Linked DNA regions of Homo sapiens: region 1 is linked to region 2. The links are contacts of gene promoters, found by promoter capture Hi-C in human tissues and cell types (Jung and others, 2019). All regions are on one chromosome and are shown on one strand. The core of a region is centred on a gene start or on the middle of the fragment in contact, and the rest is flanking DNA. Distances in the headings are between cores, read along the strand shown. Region 1 overlaps CCZ1 (CCZ1 vacuolar protein trafficking and biogenesis associated). Region 2 holds the start of ANKRD61 (ankyrin repeat domain 61).

Region 1 (2,752 bases), core at 253-2,752, 120 kb before region 2:
GACCTCAGGTGATTCCCCTGCATAGGCCTCCCAAGGTGCCTCGATTACAGGTGTGAGCCACTGCACCTGGCCTAGCCCAGTTTCTTAATTAGGGGTGTGGCCATATGGTACTACTATAAGGTAAATTCAGCTAATAGAAAAGGCAAAACTAGTTCCCCTAAAATTTACCTTCCCTGCCAAAATCTTGTAGCTCCATTTTAAGAAGAGAAACAAGTTACTGTAAAGAAATTTGAATCCAGTTAATAAACAACTTGGTGGGTTTCCACATGAACTTTATCTCCTAGGAAGACAACAGAAATTTCGGGTGAAACCCATCTACTTTTTTTTTTGTTTTTGAGATGGAGTCGCTTTCTGTTGCCCAGGCTGGAGTGCAGTGGCATGATCTTGGCTTGCTGCAACCCCTGCCTCCTGGGTTCAAGCAATTCTCCTGCCTCAGCCTCCCGAGTAGCTGGGATTACAGGTGCATACCACAACACCCAGCTAATTTTTTTGTAGAGATGGGGTTTTACCATGTTGGCCAGGCTGGTCTCGAACTCCTGACCTCAAAGGATCCGCCCACCTTGGCCTCCCAGTGCTGGGATTACAGGTGTGAGCCACTGTGCCCCGCCTCCACCTACTTTCTAATTTGACAAATAGTTTATCAGGCAACCTTACACTGTACTGACTCAGCTATAGTTGCTTTCTGTGATATGTACACAATGTTACTAAAGTGAAATTCTGCTGTGAAATGTAGGAGATGGGAGGCTAGTTGTGCTTCTGTAGCATCAGGTCTGCAGAGGGATGGCTCCTCCACAGATGGAAATGACAGGACGTGCTTGCAAGTCACACGCAGCCACAGCGATAGGGAGATGTCATGTGACAAGCCAGAATCCAGCAGTAGTGGCCCATGGCCTTGCTTCCACCAAAAAGAGAAGGGTAGCTGAGATTCTGATCTCTGGGACAGAACACAAGCCCCGCCATGGGTGCAAACTCCTGAGAGTGAGGAAGAGGGAAGGCTTAGAGCAGAGGGTCTTCCAGGAGCTCATTCTGGGAGACCCTGGAGCCAGAGTGACCAGCAGGGTTGGCCCTTTGAAGCCTGGAGTCACAGGACAATCTGGCGCCCAGCTCTGGGGATCCTGTTGGCATCGTCATCTTGGAATAGCATCTGAGGGGTTGAGCAGGGCACAGCTCTGGTGGCTGCACAGAACTGTTCTGTTGTCACCTCCAGTGTGCTCGTGGGGAAAGGTCAGTCCCAGGAAGTAGCAACAAAAATAACCTTCAAGCAAAACAGGCGCCAATGCTTACACCTGTCATCCCAGCACTTTGGGAGGCTGAGGCAGGAGGATCACTTGAGACCAGGAGTTCAAGACCAGCCTGGGCAGCATAGTGAGACTGTATCTACAAAAAATGGAAAAAAAAAAAAATAGCTGGGCATTGTGGTGTGCACTTAGAGTCCCAACTACAGAGACTACAGAGGTTGAGGCTGGAGAATCACTTGAGCCTGGAAGTTTGAGGTTGCAGTGAGCTATGATAGCACCACTGTACTCCAGCCTGGGTGACAGAGCAAGACCCTGTCTAAGAAAAAGAAAAACAGCACGTTTTGACGGAATTGCTTATTCCAAAGCTGTTATATTAAATACCAAAAAGACTTTTAAGCCAGGCGTGGTGCACATACCTATAGTCCCAGCTACTGGGGAGGAGGAGGCAGAAGGATCGCTTGAGCCAGGAGTTACTTGGAGACCAGCCTGGACAATATAATGAGGCTCTGTCTCTACCAAAAAGTGGAAAAAAAAACTTGTCACAAGCAGAGTATATATTACCCTTATGTATTTACTTAGTATATTGCTTTGATTTTTTTTTTTTGAGACTGAGTCTCATTGGCTTGGTTGCCCAGGCTAGAGTGCAGTGATGTGATCTCAGCTCACTTCAACCTGCGCCTCCCAGGTTCAAGCGATTCTCATGCCTCAGTCTCCCAAGTAGCTGGGATTAGAGGTGTGTGCTATCAGGCCTAGCAAATTTTTATATTTTTTAGTAGAGACGGTGTTTCGCCATGTTGGCCAGGCTGGTGTTGAACCCCTGACCTTAGGTGATCTGCTCACCTTGGCTTCCCCAAGTGCTGGGATTACAGGTGTGAGCTTCCGCGCCCGACCACCTTCACGGTATTTCAGTGATCTTGAATAGAAAACGCCCAGATCCAGCCTCATTGTCTGTCTCCTTTTAAAAAACCGGTTCCAGAGTCTGATACCTGCTAGTTTCTCTGTGCTTTTTCCATGTGCTGCTCCTTCCTGCCTCATTTCAGATCAGGTGGTTTGCCTGAAAGCTTGTTTTTCTCCTCCTCCTCTTTCTTCACCGAAGATCCGGAGAATTAAAATCCATGTACATTTCTGAGACCTAGGATCACGTTCCCTGTCTACAGCATACCCATATTTTCCCAGGGGACTAGGGGAGAGAATGTGGCATTACCATATAACCCAGGAAGCTAAGAGACATCTGCTCCTAAAATGAAACAGTGTGGCTTTGGAGGTTTCCTGCATAATCCTACACGGAATTCAACCAGCGAGTCCAATCCCTTGTGACTTTTTTTTTTTTTTTATCTCAAATGGCATGTAAAATACAGGACTGTAGGAGTAGCCTTTTGCAGGTCAGGATAAAGTTCCAGTGCCTGGACTCAAGTTTAACCCTTTACCTTCCTTAACTTCGCAGTCAGGTGGTGAGCCTCTTGATATAATGTTAAAGAGAAAAGCACCAGTAGTCCCAGCTACTCAGGAGGCTG
Region 2 (2,700 bases), core at 93-2,592:
TCTATGTGTGAGAAAACATTTTAAATGGCTTTTTCAAGGCATGATAAATCTAAGCACCGGCAGCCAGCCTGCAAATGTAACAAACCACATGGCTCATCCACCTGGAAGATCACAATAAGTGAACAGGATGTAGAGGAGTCAGCCCATAAAAGGGAAGAAAGTTTCATTACTGGGAAATCCAAACTTAAGCGGGAAAGGGACCAGGGTATAACCTTCTAAGGGGATAATGCAACTTAGGCGACGTCCGGGAAGATCGTAACCCTGTAGTCCTTGACCAGTGAGGAACTGAGGTAGGGTCTTGCATGCTAGGAGATAAATCACCTGTTGTAACTGCCCTGGGTGTACCTGCCTACCAGACACGTGACCTTGCAAGAGGGCTATTAAAAGTCTCACTTTCACTGTTCTTTGTGCCTCTAAGTTCACTCTTTGGGTTTGGACGGGTGAGCATGTTTCTCGCACTACGAAAAAACTGATTTTTTTCTTTAAGACAGAGTCTTGCTGTGTCGCCAGGCTGGAGTGCAGTGGTGCCATCTCGGCTCACTGTAACCTCCACCTCTCAGGTTCAAACAATTCTCCTGCCTCAACCTCCTGAGTAGCTGGGACTACAGGCGCACGCCACCACAGCCAGCTACTTTTTGTATTTTTAGTAGCGACAGGGTTTCACCATGTTGGCCAGTATGGTCTTGATCTCTTGACCTCATGTTCTGCCCGCCCTGGCCTCTCAAAGTGCTGGGATTACAGGCATGAGCGACCGCACCCAGCCAACTTTGATATTTTTTAAAAGCTCCCAGATAACTCATATGTATTAGCCAGGGTTGGGAACTAATAGATCACACTAAATGGCTTTATTTAAGCAAAGAGTACAGACCCAAAACATCTCCCAAACTATTCCTATGCCGGAGAAAAACTGAACCCATAATGGGGAGAGGGAAGATTCTATTATAATAAAAACTAAAAAATAACTTAAGGTTAAAAGTTTTCTTACTTTAAAAGTAATAATTTTAACTTTGTATTTTAATGTATAAATTCCTCTGTTTTAGCTTTGATCATTGTTTCAGCTACACTTGAACTGGAGAGAAATCAGAAATAAAGGTGTAAGATGATAGCTTGAATATGTTTTTATGATAGAGTAGAAAACCCTAAAAACTGCTGACATTTGACATTCTATGATCAAGGAACAAAGTCTGGACGCTTGGTTCCAAACTGATGGATTGCCTTCACAGATCCAATTCTCGACAAATTCTAGAACAGTTCTAGAACTGAACTGAAAGAATCATCACAAAGAGACTGAAACTGACCAATTCCATAACAACATTTTCCCCTGAAGTCTTAAGTTTTTCTCATGGGGAATATAACCAGGAAAGGAAGCAGAGACCTGGTGGTTGACAGTGCCAAGTCCCTGGAAGATGGCCCATCTGCAGCACTTCACTCGAAACTCTATGAAGCCATCATGAGAGAAGACTGCACTACGATCGAGGTACTCCTGAGAAATCACCCTGTCAACCAGCCCATCACCATTCTGCCCAACTCCGCCAGCAACAGATTACTTCTGACCCAGGTACCCTCTTTTCTGCTCAGTCACTTCTGGAAAAAAGTCAGGCTGCTTAGAAAGAAGCATGATCTAAAGCTGGTGAACCCACTAAGCTCACGGCCCTTATGAGAATGAGACACGACTCCAGCTCACTCCACACACACTGCAGTGCTCCCCAAAGCCTGCAAAGCCTCCCCTACACATGTCACACACAAACCAACATGAGAAAACACCAGACCCTGTGTGACTGGAAGACCATTCATGTCATCTCTCAAACATACCCACAGTGATGATCTCCATGTGGTCAAATTAGTTTTTCCCTTTTTTGGCCAGACGCAGTAGCTCATGCCTGTAATCCCAGCACTTTGGAAGGCTGAGGTGGGTGGATCACCTGAGGTCAGGAGTTCGAGACCAGCCTGGCCAGCAGGGCAAAACCCCGTCTCTACTAAAAATACAAAAATTAGCCGGGCTTGGTGGCAGGAGCCTGTAATCTCAGCTACTCGGACGGCTGAGGCAGGAGAATTGCTTGAACCCAGGAGGCAGAGGTTGCAGTGAGCCAAGATCGTACCACTGCACTCTCTAGCCTGGATGACAGAGCAAGACTCCATCTCAAACAAACAAACAAAAAATAGTTTTTCCCTTTTTAATATATACATTTTCATTTTCTAAATTTTTATACAATGATTATTACTTTTACAATTAAATTCAAAAAGGAAGTCACCCTCCCTTGTACCCTACTGTCTTATCTTGCAGCCACGGTGTGAAACCACTACTTACACGTGTGTATTTTAAGAGCTGGCACAAACAGCTCTGCTAATCATAGACAGAACATATGCTGCGTTATATTTGAAAACCCTGAAGATTCAGGTTTTACTGCTGATAATACGACTTTGGCAACGACACAGCACCTACTTGTCCATCACCCTGTGGGTTAATTTAAGGAATAAGTGACTTCATAGCAAGTACCCTTAATATCACACCACAGGCTCTTCTGAAGAATCAACTTTCAAAAATTTCCAAAGCTTTTGAGTGTTATTTCTGTTGCCTCAGTAAATGTGCATTTCTGTGAAACACAGATTTTATAGGATGGAATTCACTGAATTTTGATCATTTAAAACAGGTAGTAGAAAGGAAACTTTCAATGCACATACCAGAAAAAGAGTGAGCCA

Evidence for each region. Contacts are between HindIII fragments. The study calls those that stand out against the background at their distance.
Region 1: a contact is called between a fragment that was not itself captured here and the fragment with the promoter of ANKRD61 in region 2, in 2 of the 25 tissues and cell types used here (mesendoderm cells and spleen).

The regions. Positions count from the first base shown.
Region 1 is chr7:5,906,551-5,909,302 of GRCh38, forward strand. The region is part of intron 7 of CCZ1 (CCZ1 vacuolar protein trafficking and biogenesis associated); the gene reads left to right. Among named protein-coding and RNA genes, the nearest start is that of CCZ1, 9.2 kb to the left of the region's middle. The HindIII fragment of the contact is 4,548 bases long and covers 1-2,752 here.
Region 2 is chr7:6,030,034-6,032,733 of GRCh38, forward strand. It overlaps ANKRD61 (ankyrin repeat domain 61), which reads left to right and starts at 1,343. Exons shown (of 3, transcript NM_001271700.2): 1 at 1,343-1,558. The coding sequence starts at 1,343. The region is part of intron 11 of EIF2AK1 (eukaryotic translation initiation factor 2 alpha kinase 1); the gene reads right to left. The HindIII fragment of the contact is 7,395 bases long and covers 1-2,700 here.